Regions from separate parts of the Homo sapiens genome. Here regions 2, 3 and 4 are each linked to region 1. The links are contacts of gene promoters, found by promoter capture Hi-C in human tissues and cell types (Jung and others, 2019). All regions are on one chromosome and are shown on one strand. Each heading gives the region's core, a stretch centred on a gene start or on the middle of the fragment in contact. The rest is flanking DNA. Distances are from core to core; before and after follow the strand shown. Region 1 holds the start of WWC1 (WW and C2 domain containing 1). Region 2 overlaps WWC1 (WW and C2 domain containing 1). Region 3 overlaps WWC1 (WW and C2 domain containing 1). Region 4 overlaps TENM2 (teneurin transmembrane protein 2).

What was found. The method cuts DNA at HindIII sites, captures the fragments that hold promoters and counts their contacts. A contact is called where the count stands out against the background at its distance.
Region 2: a fragment that was not itself captured here is called in contact with the fragment with the promoter of WWC1 in region 1 in 6 of the 25 tissues and cell types used here (IMR-90 fibroblasts, dorsolateral prefrontal cortex, neural progenitor cells and 3 more).
Region 3: a contact is called between a fragment that was not itself captured here and the fragment with the promoter of WWC1 in region 1, in 3 of the 25 tissues and cell types used here (H1 embryonic stem cells, IMR-90 fibroblasts and mesendoderm cells).
Region 4: a fragment that was not itself captured here is called in contact with the fragment with the promoter of WWC1 in region 1 in 1 of the 25 tissues and cell types used here (psoas muscle).

Annotation. Positions count from the first base shown.
Region 1 is chr5:168,290,194-168,293,397 of GRCh38, reverse strand. It overlaps WWC1 (WW and C2 domain containing 1), which reads right to left and starts at 1,753. Exons shown (of 23, transcript NM_015238.3): 1 at 1,127-1,753. The coding sequence starts at 1,245. RefSeq lists silencers at 941-1,360, 1,461-1,980 and an enhancer at 3,125-3,204. The HindIII fragment of the contact is 18,450 bases long and covers 1-3,204 here.
Region 2 is chr5:168,323,511-168,326,680 of GRCh38, reverse strand. The region is part of intron 1 of WWC1 (WW and C2 domain containing 1); the gene reads right to left. Among named protein-coding and RNA genes, the nearest start is that of WWC1, 33 kb to the right of the region's middle. The HindIII fragment of the contact is 5,949 bases long and covers 1-3,170 here.
Region 3 is chr5:168,341,771-168,344,959 of GRCh38, reverse strand. All of the region lies in intron 1 of WWC1 (WW and C2 domain containing 1), which reads right to left. Among named protein-coding and RNA genes, the nearest start is that of WWC1, 52 kb to the right of the region's middle. The HindIII fragment of the contact is 5,637 bases long and covers 1-3,189 here.
Region 4 is chr5:168,240,233-168,243,362 of GRCh38, reverse strand. The region is part of intron 27 of TENM2 (teneurin transmembrane protein 2); the gene reads right to left. Among named protein-coding and RNA genes, the nearest start is that of TENM2-AS1, 9.4 kb to the right of the region's middle. The HindIII fragment of the contact is 5,657 bases long and covers 1-3,130 here.

The sequences.
Region 1 (3,204 bases), core at 504-3,003:
CCTCCACCCCCACCACACAAGATGAAGAGTCCAAGAAATTCACCTTGGTTGCTTTACAGGGACCTGACCCCCAAGGTCACAGACAAGGTTTAAAGTCCGCATTCCCCAAGACACTCTGCCCACAGACCGTGTCAACAACATCGTGGTCCGGGGACTCTAGGACATACATGGAGAGGGTGAATGTATGTGTGTGTGTGCAGCATGTGAGCAAAGAAATGCCAAACAACCAGGAGAAAGTCTGGAGAGGTAAGAGCCACACCGAGCTATCTCAGGCTCCATCTGCCTCTGCACATTATCTCAACCTACAGCGGCCTGGTACCCACCAAGGTCAGGTCCCGCTGGTGCAGGGCTGAGGAGCCTCGCCGCCCCCTTCCCCGATCAGGGAAGAAAGAGAGGAGAAAGAGGCGAGGGGCAAGGCTTTCCGGGAGGCCTCTCACCTCCATCTCCATCCTAACAGCTTCCAAGTTGCTGCCAGATTCCTGGATAACCAGTCTCCCTCATCTGCCCTCCCCCGCTTCTTCACTTCCTCCCCACCCTCGGGTTCCAGGGCCCCCTGGCTGCCCCTGTGCTGTTCTCAGCAGCTTCCAAGGCACCTGTCAAAAAGCACACCTCAGGTTGCCTTCCTCTGCGCCGAGTGCCCTCTCTCCAGTGGTCTCCCACGGAATCCTGGGGTCTTGACCACCCCCTCTAACCGGACACTTCCCCATCCCCATCCGCCCACCCCCCACGCTGGGTGGAAGCCTCCCCGGGAAGACCCGGCTTCACCCGGCTAGGTCGCTCCCCCAACCCCCGCCCCCGCCCGACCTCTCTTCCTAAAGGGGGCGGGCGGGGCTAGAGCTTAAGGTCAAAACTCCGGGCAGGTGCCGGCTGGGGCCTAAGTCCTCCAACTGGGGATGGCGGTGGGGCAGCCTGGGCCAGCTCCCCGGCAGGCGCCTCCTCTCGGTGGCCCACTGAGGCGGGAGCAGCGCTCCAGAAGGTTGGGGGGAGCAGGGGGTGGCGAACTGAAGAGAGCTCAAGAGGCACGCAGAGCTCCCCTGCCCCCTCCCAGTCCCGGCCGGCGGCTCCAGGGGCAGGTGGGGGCCCAGGCGGGGGTGTGGGGGCACGGAGGAGGGTTCCAGGGTCCTACCTGTCCCGCGGGTCGATCCAGCTGGTGGTGCGGTTCGTGTGGTCTATGTAGTAGACCTTGCCGTCGAAGTCGCGCGCCTCCTCCCAGCCCTCCGGCAGGGGCAGCTCCGGCCGGGGCATCTTCCCAAGCGCTGCCGGCGCTCCCCCATGCAGCTCCCGGCCGCAGCGGGGGCTCAGCGGCTCCAGCCGGCCGCTCTTAGCCCGGGCGGCCGCCGAGGCACCATGATCCGGGGGGTGGCGCCCGCAGATGGGGGGCCCTAGTAGGGGCCGGCCGGGGTGGCGCCGCTGTCCATGCGGCCCTGCAGCCCCGACCCGGCGCCGCCCGCTCCTCCCGCCGCCGGCCTCTCACGCTGCCATGTGCGTCCGCAGCGGCGCGGTGCGAGCCCGGGTGCGCGCCCAGCCGGCCGGGCAGAGCGAGCCGAGCGCCGCCGCCGCCGCCGTCTGCCCTCCTCCGCCGCGCGGCGCGCTGCGCCCTCCACGCCGCCGCTGCCGCTGCCGCCTCCCTCCTCCCTGCAGCCGGGTGCCGTCCCTCCTCTCCGCTCCACCGCTCTGAGCTCGCCGGGTTTGTGACTTCTGCCTCCGCCAGGTGCGGCTCGGGCGGTGCAGGTAACCGCGCTGCCCCGGAAACGGGAGGCGGAGCGCCGGGCGCCTGGGTTCCCGGGTCCCCTCCCCGCGCGCAGCGCCTCGAGGGCGGGTCCTAGGGCCCGAGACGCGCCCCCTCGTGGGACAGTCCCAGCCGCCGGCCACCCTTACGCTGCCCCTGCCAGGGGAAGGAGAGACCGCCCCTCACCTGCGTCCCAGACCTAGGGGGCTGGGCCAAAAACCGCTCTGCCTGTACTTAAAACGCTCCTGTCTCTCTCCACCCGGAGTAGCCAGGCTCTCGGCACAGGTGGCCCCAAATCTTAAAAACTCCCTGCTTTTCTGTGGTGTAGAATCAGGAGTCAGGCAAGAAGTGGTTAAATGGAAACATTCTTGCGAATTGGGAAACATAAGTTTTCCAGGATCTCTGGTCCCTTCCCCCAACACAGGCACCATCTGTCTCCTTCTATTCAACTCTCCCTACGACGTTTCGCCCACCCTCCACCCTTCCCCACCATTTGGAAATGTAGCTGGCTCCCCTCAGGGTCCCTAAAATTAGGAGCGCTGTGGATCCGCTTTCCTGGGAGGACTTCCAGAGGGTGTCAGGGAAAACACTTTGTAAAAGTAATAGTAATGCCATTGTTATTGTTAGCTAAATTGAGGACTTACTTGTGACAGGCTGTGGCTAGCAGCTTCACAGGCTTTCTTTCCTGTGATACTTTGAGGTAGGTGTGTTATGGATTTGGGAGAAGTGGGGCTATGAAAAAGAAGAAAGTAAGCAAAGCAAAATTCCATCTTGAAAAATGTTCAAGAGAATAAAACAATCAGAGACACAATGTTTCTTGAGAAATTAAAAATGTAGAATTAGTGGGTGCGGTGGCTCACGCCTGTAATCCCAGCACTTTGGGAGGGTGAGGCAGACAGATTACCTGAGGTCAGGATTTCAGACCAGCCTGGCCAACATAGTGAACCCCATCTCTACTAAAAAATAATAATAATAAATTAGCTGGGCGTGGTGGTGCACGCCCGTAGTCCCAGCTACTCGGGAGGCTGAGGCATGAGAATCACTTCAACCTGGGAGGTGGAGGTTGCAGTGAGCCAAGATCGCACCACTGCACTCCAGCCTGGGCAACAAAGCGAGACTCTGTCTCAAATAAATAAATAAATAAATTTAAAATGTAGCATTAAATACAAAAAGCAAGCTAGCATGATTGAGTGAATGATCAACTGGCTGTTCACTTCCCCATCTCCTCTTACATCTGTGTACTGAGTGGGAATTTAACCCTTTTTTGCCCTCGGCATATGGCAGGAAGCTGGACTGGTCGAATGAAGCCCAGTTGGGTGTCTTCTCTTGCCTGAGCCCCACGGTCTTCCAGAAGAACCAGCACCCTGTGCTGTATGGACCAGGGTGTTGCTGAGCCAGAGAGGGAATCATGTTTGTGGTCTCATCTCCTCTTGACAGAAAAGACCCACCAGAGTGAGCCTCGCCTCCAAATGCCT
Region 2 (3,170 bases), core at 174-2,673, 34 kb before region 1:
CCCAGCTACTTGGAAGGCTGAGGCAGAAGAATTGCTTGAACCAGGACACAGGAGGCGGAGGTTGCAGTGAGCTGAGATCGCATCACTGTACTCCAGCCTGGGCTACAGAGCTAGACTCCATCTAAAAACAACAACAACAACAACAAATAACACTATCAAGTCGGGGCCGGGCACGGTGGCTCATGCCTGTAATCCCAGCACTTTGGGAGGCTGAGGCGGGCGGATCACCTGAGGTGGGGAGTTCGAGACCAGCCTGACCAACATGGAGAAACCCTGTCTCTACTAAAAATACAAAATTAGCTGGGCGTGGTGGCACATGCCTGTAATCCCAGCTAGTAGGGAGGCTGGGGCAGGAGAGTCGCTTGAACCTGGGAGGCGGAGGTTGCGGTGAGCCGAGATCACGCTATTGCACTCCAGTCTGGGCAACAAGAGCAAAACTCCGTCCCAAAAAAAAAAAAAAAAAAGACTATCAGGTCGGTGTCCTGAGCCACTAATTCCTATCCCCATTTACGCCTTATTACCTTAAAACAAAACAAAACAAAAAATCATTACTGTCCACTCACATTCCTAGCAGCATTATTCACAAATAGCCAAAAGGTGAAAGCAACCCAAATGTCCACCGACAGAGGAACAGAAAAGCAAAATGTGATATCAACATACAAGGGAATATGATTTACCCTTAAAAAGGAAGGAAATTTTGACACAGTCTACAACATGGATGAGTCTTATGTATTATTTCACATAATGCTAAGTGAAACCACCTGTCACAAAGGACAAATACTATGGGATTTCATTTATATGAGGTATCTAGAGTAGTCAAACTCATAGAGCCAGAGACAGAATAGTAGTTTCCAGGGGCTGGGGGCAGGGTGGAATGGGGAATTGTTTAGTGGGTGTAGGAAGATGAAAAGAGTTCTGGAGATGGATGGTGGTGATGGTGGCATAATAACAATATAATTAATGCACTAAACTCTACCGTTGAAAATGGTTAAGATGATTAATTTTATGTTATGTATATTTTACCACAATTTTTTAAAAAGGAAAAGAAATCATTTCTCACATGGAATGTCAGTGCAAATGGGACTGCCTGTAAATGATGGAATTCTTTGCCACCAGATACAGCCTATCCAGGAAGCTTCTCCTCCTCTTCCAGGCAACTTTTCATTATTGCTTAAAAATTCCCCTCCCCACTGCCCCACCTGGTGCTGACTCAGCTCCTGTCAGTATCTGAATGCCAGGAACCAGCCTGAGGGCGGACACTGCCACCTTCTCCTGTGTCCTAGGACACCCAGAGTTCCCAGAGACTGACAATGATGCCATCCACCACTCCAGGACCCCAGCCCCTGCCAATCTCAGCGAGCATGGCCCCAAGTCCTGACTGGCATCACACGTGAGCTTGGCAGGTTCCAGAAAGCTCTCTTCATGGCAAGAAAAGCTAGGGTGGGGTACCCTGTGGGAGCTGTTGGTAGGGGCTCCTATCAGAAGGCCCCAGGGCCTGCCATCTCAGAGGACAAGGAGGACACACGTGGTCTCAATGCTATGCACAGAATGAGGCCATGGAGGTTAGCTTGCTTCTGCCCACTTCTGCCCTTGCCAGCGAGTCAAAGGAGATCAGGACTGGAATGAGGAAATGGCTCCATCTGTCCTCTCCCCTGCAAAGAGCTGGAAAGCTTGCTCTACTGGATCCAGTCATTTATTCAGGTATTTGAACTCAGCTACTAGGTGTCTACACATTTAGGATGGTCATGTCTTTTTGATGAATCACCCTATTATTGTAAAAGCTCTCTGCATGCCATGCTGACAGCCATTCCAATATTCTTTTGATTAGTATTGGTATGGTATATCCTTCCTATCCTTTTACTTGTAACCTATGTATTTATATTTAAAGTGAACCTGTTACAGGCAGGCTATATACTTGAGTCTTGTTCTTTTTTTCTACTTTTTAATTAAAGTGTTTAGTCCATTTACTTTTACTGAATTATTGATATAGCTGGATTTAAGTCTACCAATTTGCCATTTGTTGTCTATTTGTCTTACCTGTTTCTTGTTTTCTGTTCTGCTTTTAAAAAAAAAATCATCCACAATACACCATTATTATGTTTGCTCTAAAGAGTCAACTATCTTTTAAAGAAATGAAGAAATTTTTAGTTTTTTCTATTTCTGGTGCTCTTTTAATTTCTCACGTAGATCTAAGTTTCCACCTGATATCATCTTCCTTTGGCCTGAAAAATTTATTTATTTTTTTTTTGAGACAGAGTCACGCTCTGTTACCCAAGCTGGAGTATAGCGGCACAGTCTCAACTCACTGCAACCTCTGCCTCCTAGGTTCAAGCGATTCTCCTGCCTCGGCCTCCTGAGTAGGTGGGACTGCAGGTGAGCACCACCAGCCTGGCTAATTTTTGTACTTTTAGTAGAGACAGGGTTTCCCCATGTTGGTCAGGCTGGTCTCAAACTCCTGACGTCATGATCCGCTCGCCTCAGCCTCCCAAAGTGCTGGGATTACAGGCATGGGCCACTGCACCTGGCCCTGAAAAATTTCCTTTAACATTTCTTATTGTATAACTGTGCTAGTGATACTTTCTCTAAGCAATTTATTTTATCTGAAAATGTTTGGATTTTATCTTCATTTTAAGGATACTTGTGGTTGGATACAGAATTGTTAAGTTGACAGTATTTTTCCCTTTCAGCACCTTAGAGATGTCATTCAGTTATGTTTTGGTTTGTATCGTCTCTGATGAGAAGTCCGCAGTATTCTTACTGTTCTCCTGTATGTAATTCCTATTGTTCTCCTGTGTGTTATTCCCTGATGATTTTAAGATTTTTCTCATCTTTTGTTTTCAGCAGTTTGACTATGATGTGTCTAGGTGTAGTTTTCCACATGATTTTCCTGGATTTATTGGGCTTCTTGGATCTGTGGGTGATATCATTTTCATCAACTTTGGAATTTTTCAGCCATTATGTCTTCAAATACATTTTCTTTTCCAATCTCTCTACCTCCTTTTTTATGGGAATGCAAATACACATTTCTTAGACTGATTAATAATGTCCCACAAATTGCTAAAGTCCTGACTTTTTTTTTCCAAGCTTTTTTTCCTTCTGTGCTTCAGCTTGGGTACTTTTTATTTTATTTTAGACAGGGTCTCACTCGTTCTGTTGCCCAGGCTGGAATA
Region 3 (3,189 bases), core at 87-2,586, 52 kb before region 1:
CTCCAAATAATTACACAAAAAATAAATCAACACTTTGTTCAAACTAAGAACTGGGGCATGGTTGCAGTATGTTGTTAAATACAGTATAAATATACTTTAAAATTTTTAGTTTCATTTCTCAAAATGAAGGCCTGATCAAATCTTTTCCCCCCAATATTTACTATAAATGTTTGACTTCTATTTTAAGTAATTTCTCTTCTAAATAAAACCTCCCCTTGGAATATGAACCCCCTGCACTGCTTTGTCAAGCAGCCCCTGCTTCCTGCTGTGACAGACGCAATGCTAAGGCTTGAGCAAGAGCACCTGCTTCAGAGATGCTCAGAGTTTCTTCCCTTCACAGAATTTTCCCATCTACTGTTTCATCTGATGTCTTCAAGAACTCCATGAGTTAGTTCAGGAAACTGTGTACTATTATCCCACACATATACATCTACTTTGTAGCTTACAAAGCTCTTATGACATCTGCTATCTCATCTTGACCCACAGGACAATTCTGGAGGAGAAAAGTAACACTCACATTCTACAGATGAGAAAACCGAGCCTGAAATGTAAAGAATGTGCCCAAGACCCCATAACTCGCTGTTGGAAGCTTTAGGATTAGAAGCCAGGTTTTCACCACTTGTTCTTTCCTGTGGGCTACCCAACTCTCTCAAGCACAGGGAAGACAAATGAAAGTTCTGCAGGCTAGGAATCATTTTTTCAGGCCAGTGAATTCTTTTTAGAAGCTATCTGCAAGGCTGCCTTAAAACACTCAAACATATCTCCTTTTGCAGAAACAGTCCAAGGTATACAAGCAAAACAGTGACAATCAATACATTCCCATTGCCCCATTATGACTGTTCTAGGTGGAAAATAAGGATCAGAAGAGTTCCATTCCAAATGTTCAGAATGGATAGGCCTTGCAAGCTGCTGTTTGGGTGAGCTGCATGATAGCTTGTCAGCTACAGTGGTTCAGATGCAGCAGTGTTCTCCAATGTGTAACTGAGCCGAGGGGGAAGCACGTGAATTATTAAGAAATGTCATCAGTGGAAGACTGAGTGGAGGTATGGTGGGGGAGACATCTGAGAGCCCTGAACCCCTGAAGACTAGGAAAAAACATAAACATCCCAGAAGCAAAAGTTCAACTTTTTTTTTTTTTTTTTTGAGACATAGTCTCACTGTGTCGCCCAGGCTGCAGTGGCATGATCTCAGCTCACTGCAACCTCCGCCTCCTGGGTTGAAGTGATTCTCATGCCTCAGCCTCCCAAGTAGCTGCGATTACAGGCACACGCCACCACGCCCAGCTAATTTTTGTATTTTTAGTAGAGACGGGGTTTCACCATGTTGGTCAGGATGGTCTTGACCTCTTGACTTTGTGATCCGCCCACCTCGGCCTCCCAAAGTGTTGGGATTACAGGCGTGAGCCACCACGCCCGGCCTCAACTCTTAATATATGTCAGCCCCTCCTTTGCAACCAGCTCTGCGTGCTGCTGCTGACAAGCAGCATGGTGTGGAGGCATGGGATGTCCTAGAGTCCAGCCAACCTGAGCTCTGTGATCTTGGGCAAGTTATTTCCCTTCTTTGAGTGTCAGTTTTCTTCATCTATTAAATGGGGTCATCACTTTCACTTGTCCTGAAAAGTATACAAGATAATACACAGTTAGCACAGTGCCTGCCCCACAGTAAACACTCAGAATGTTGAAGCTATCATGAATAAATTCAAATGCAGGGCACATGAAAGCACTTAATGAACGTTTGGCCCCGTCATCAAGAAAGTATTTCTGTATCTCCTAGCACAGTGAACTTTATGACCTTTAAAACCATGATTATATGGTCTGTGCAAATGTGAAAGGGAAGTAAAGTTGAGAAAATTGGGAGGTCCATCTGCGCAATGAAAATGCATACAAACCCCCCAGGCTCTTAGGGCTGGATGGTGGTCATAAAACAAGAACTCCAAGCTTCTGGGAGCCCAATCCTTCCTTGGAACCTACAAATTGGATGGAATTTTTTAACACTGGAACTGGAAACACCCCTTGCTCCCTGCCTAGTGCCCAGATACTTGGTGGTGGGCACTTGGATAAACCCTACTGCCCAGAGTGTGGAACAGCTTGAGGGGCCCCCACTGTGCTCTCAATCCGTCCACAGTATGGGGTCTGTTCTCTGCAGCACTTGCATCCTCCGGTTCTTTGCTCAAGACTTTCCAGTGGATCCCAGTCATTCATGGGTTTCCTTAGCTGGGTCTTCATGGCTCTTCATCTACCCTTTGGGAGTTCTTACCCTTTCCATGAACCCCCTCCTCCACACAGTGTGGTATAGTCCCTGCATACCTTCCCACCTCAATGTCTTAGTGAGTCATCCACGACTCTTCAACCTATCCCCCACCACATCTGTTTCTGCCTTTCTAGATCCTACAAAGCCTTCAGGGCCTCCACGAAGTCCACAGAAATCCGGTCAGCATGAATTCAACCTCATATCTAATGTTACTGCTTCAAACTTCTATACATGTATCACTGGCTGAACTGTGAGCTTCCAGGAGGCAGGGAATGTGCATATACTTGTGGGTGTGCATTCACCCACAGCACCTAACACTGCCACTTGGATCCAGCCAAGTGCCTGCCTGCCTAGAGGCTGCCTAATTTTTGCGCAATAGCTCTACCTTCCATGGTCCCTACCCTGTTCAGCTCCATCAGCTCCGTCAGCTCCTAGAACCTATTACCCTGATCTTTATGTTTTCCCTCTCCCTTCCTCTGCTCCAAACAATTCAGAATAAAACCAGGCCAGTTGGAGGTGAGCTGTGTCAAATACTCCCTGTATCTGAAAGTCTTTCAGTAAGTCCCCCCAGTGCTCCCCATTCACTTCCACTGAAACTTCCCCATGCCTATTCAGTGCCAATTTCAGTGCCTGAAGATGCCCTTGGAACCAGCGCTCTGGACATGGAAGCTGTTTCCTCCCATTACACATGCTGGTGTCTGACACAGGCTGCAGGCTTCACTCTGGGTACCGAAGTCCACTGGCTAGGGGAAGGGGCAGCACAGCTCTAATTGTGTGGAGTGATTACAATTAGCTACCAATGCTCTCGGCCCACCTGGGGAAATGGGGTGGACACAAAAGCTGCTATCAAGAGGTAACAGAACTTTCTTCCGTTATCTGTGGGTGAATCACCAGGTCCTTTTCATGGCTCACTTAAGGGGCCAGGGAAGGACCAGCATC
Region 4 (3,130 bases), core at 349-2,848, 50 kb after region 1:
GATTTGAAAGGAATAGGGAAACACATCAGACATAATTTAATATTTATTTAGAAGTTGATCTGATCAGAGAAGAAAGCCTATCCCAGAAGGCAGAGCTGGGAGACTAGACTCTGGTGAGGGGCAAAGGAGAGGGGCTCCTGAGATTCAGCTAGCCCTGAGTGGGTGGCTGGAAGTGAATGAAATGAACCAGACTCAGCCCAGGCTCTCACAACTTCACTGACTGCAAATCCAGACATCCCTGGGGTGGCTGCTGAAGGCAAGGGATGATGTAAATAGGCGAAAGGAAGAGACTCGAGAGATGTCTGGTACCTCCTCACTTTACCCTAATAATTCAACAGCACTTACTGGTAATAATGATGGTAGTGATGGTGGTGATGATAGTAATAATAAGTTTTTTTTTTTTTTTGAGATAGAGTCTCACTCTGTTGCCCAGGCTGGAGTGCAGTGGTGCAATCTCAGCTCACTGCAACCTCTGTCTCCCGGGTTCAAGTGATTCTCCTGCCTCAGCCTCCCTCCTGAGTAGTTGGGATTAGAGGCATGTGCCATCATACTGGGCTAATTTTTGTATTTTTAGTAGAGACGAGGTTTCACCATGTTGGCCAGGCTGGTCTCGAACTCCTGACCTCAGGTGATCCACCCACCTTGTCCTCCCAAAGTTCTAGGATTACAGGTGTGAGCCACCACGCCCAGCTGATAGTAATGATGACTTTAATATATGCTGAGGACGAATATATACAGGCATTGTGTTAGGCATTTTGCATCCATTGTTTGAGTTGTTGCTCACAAAGACCATTTGACAAATGATAAAAAAAGCTTCAAACAGAGTGGTTACAAAACTTGCTCAAGGTCACACAGCAGTGAAGTGGTTGGATTGGTCTGGAACTTAGGCCTTCAGACTTTAACCAGTTAACTTCTTATACACTTCACCAGCTTTACTGCTTCCTGTATTGTATGTCCATTGAGTGCCCTGAAATGTGTCAAATGATGAACAGACTGTGAAGCATTTTCACAGCCCTTGAACGCTCCACATTGCAGCTTTGGGGGTGTGAGGGGGTGGGACAAGGAATAATTCTAATACCACAGACACTTGCATTCTGGGAAACAGCTTTGTGCCCAGGTAATGAAACACATTTCGCAGCTTCCTTCAGAGATACGGGTGGCCAACAAGATGTAAGTGGTTGTTGTTGGCTGGTCTTCTGGGAAATATTCTTAAAGGAAATTGACTCAGCTGAGAGCTAGGCAATCTTTAATTCTTCCCTTTCCTCCTTTTCCTGGGTGAAATGTGTATGTGATGGCTGGAGCTCCAGCATTTACCTTGTGACTATGAGGTGACTTTGGGGCTGGAGACCTCCAGGATGATGGCCTATCCAGAGAAAAAGAGTCTAGATCTCTGTTGATCTAGGTGTCTTCAGTGTTCATCCATACAGCCAAGGATTGCTTTCCCTAAGCTCCTTTCAGATCATAGGAAAATAATAAGCGTAAATCCTGTTTAAACCCTTGCTATTGCTAATCTCTGTTACTAGCGGTGGAAACAAATCTAAATTGATACAAGCCCCTGATACTTTGGCAGGTGCTATGCTAGGTACTTTACATACCTGATCCCATTTTCACTTTCATGACATAGAAACTATCTTACATAAGAGCAACTGAGGTCTACAGGAGTCCCATAACTAGACAAGTGGCAGAAGTGGAATCTGAACCCAGGACTACAGATTCTCCAAACCATTGCTGTTTCTATAAGGTCATCTCAGAGAGAGGATAGAATATTTATTATAGGACAATTAGAAAAGAGGATGCATAGGCCAGGTGCGTGTGGCTCATGTCTGTAATTTCAACATTTTAGGGGGCTGAGATTGGCAGATCACCTGAGGTCAGGAGTTTGAGACCAGCCTGGCCAACATGGTGAAACCCTGTGTCTACTAAAAAAAAAAAAAAAAAAAATTAGCCAAGCATGGTAGCATGTGTCTATAATCCCAGCTACCCAAAAGGCTGAGCAGGAGAATTGTTTGAACCCAGGAGGTGGAGGTTGCAGTGAGCCAAGATCATGCCACTGCACCCCACCCTGGGGGACAGAGTGAGACTCTGTTTCAAAAAAAAAAAGAACAAAAAGAAAAAGAAAAGAGAATGCATCAAAGCATGGGGAGGGAAATAAAGGTGGTGAGTTCTTGGGATTATAAGGAACCCTAACTTCAAGTGGAAGATTCCTATCAACAACTTCCAGCAACTGGGAATAGTCAAGAAGGCAAAGGCTGAGTAGTAGGATTTTTTATTTTTTTAAAAACAGGTCCAAAAGTTAATGCCGTCTGAATTATACGGGATTGGAGCCATCATTTTCAGAGCAAAACACACAGTGGTGGTCAGAAAGATAGGTCTTCTCCTCTGCCAACAGAAGCTTGGTCACATCGGGTTGGTTCATCTGGGACAACTGCGGAAGGCCACCATCATTCTTAAACCTATGGGTTTCAGATTTTGGTTCAAGACCTCTCCAACATTTTGTTAGGCAGAATGAATGATGCAACAATGAGGAAGGATTTCCAGGGTTTTTGGAGGCAACTGCTGGGGACTTGCCATCATGCCTACTTATTTCCATCCCCTTGGCCATCCTTAGTTTTTCCTCCTTCCCTTTTCTTATATTTTTTTTTCTTTTTGCTCATATCATAGGGCCCTAGTGCATTTATTAATTATTGAACATTGAGTGTCAGCTAATGCCAGGCTTTGGTGTCTGCTCTGGTATACAAGGAAGAAAAACCACAGCAACAGCAACATGTTGAGCATTTACACAGGCTGAGTGTTATTCTCAGCATTGCCCTTGTTTTGTCTAATTTACACAACAACACTCTCAGGCAGGCATTATTATCATCCCCATTTTGCACACAAGATATAGATGGGTTTAAGTGACTTGCTCAAGTTTAGATAAATACTCAGTGGTAGAGCTAGGATCCCCATACAGAGCTTGCTGTCTTAACCTCCAGGTTGTACACCTCTAGGATTGAGGGGTGTTGGACTACAGGCTTTCCATCAAGCATGCAATTCTAAACCACATGGGACACTCTCTTAAAGCTCTGCTGCTCGGCTGGCTCCACGCCTGCTGAATCAGCTCCTCAGGGAATAGGGGTTTGGGTCTTGTTGA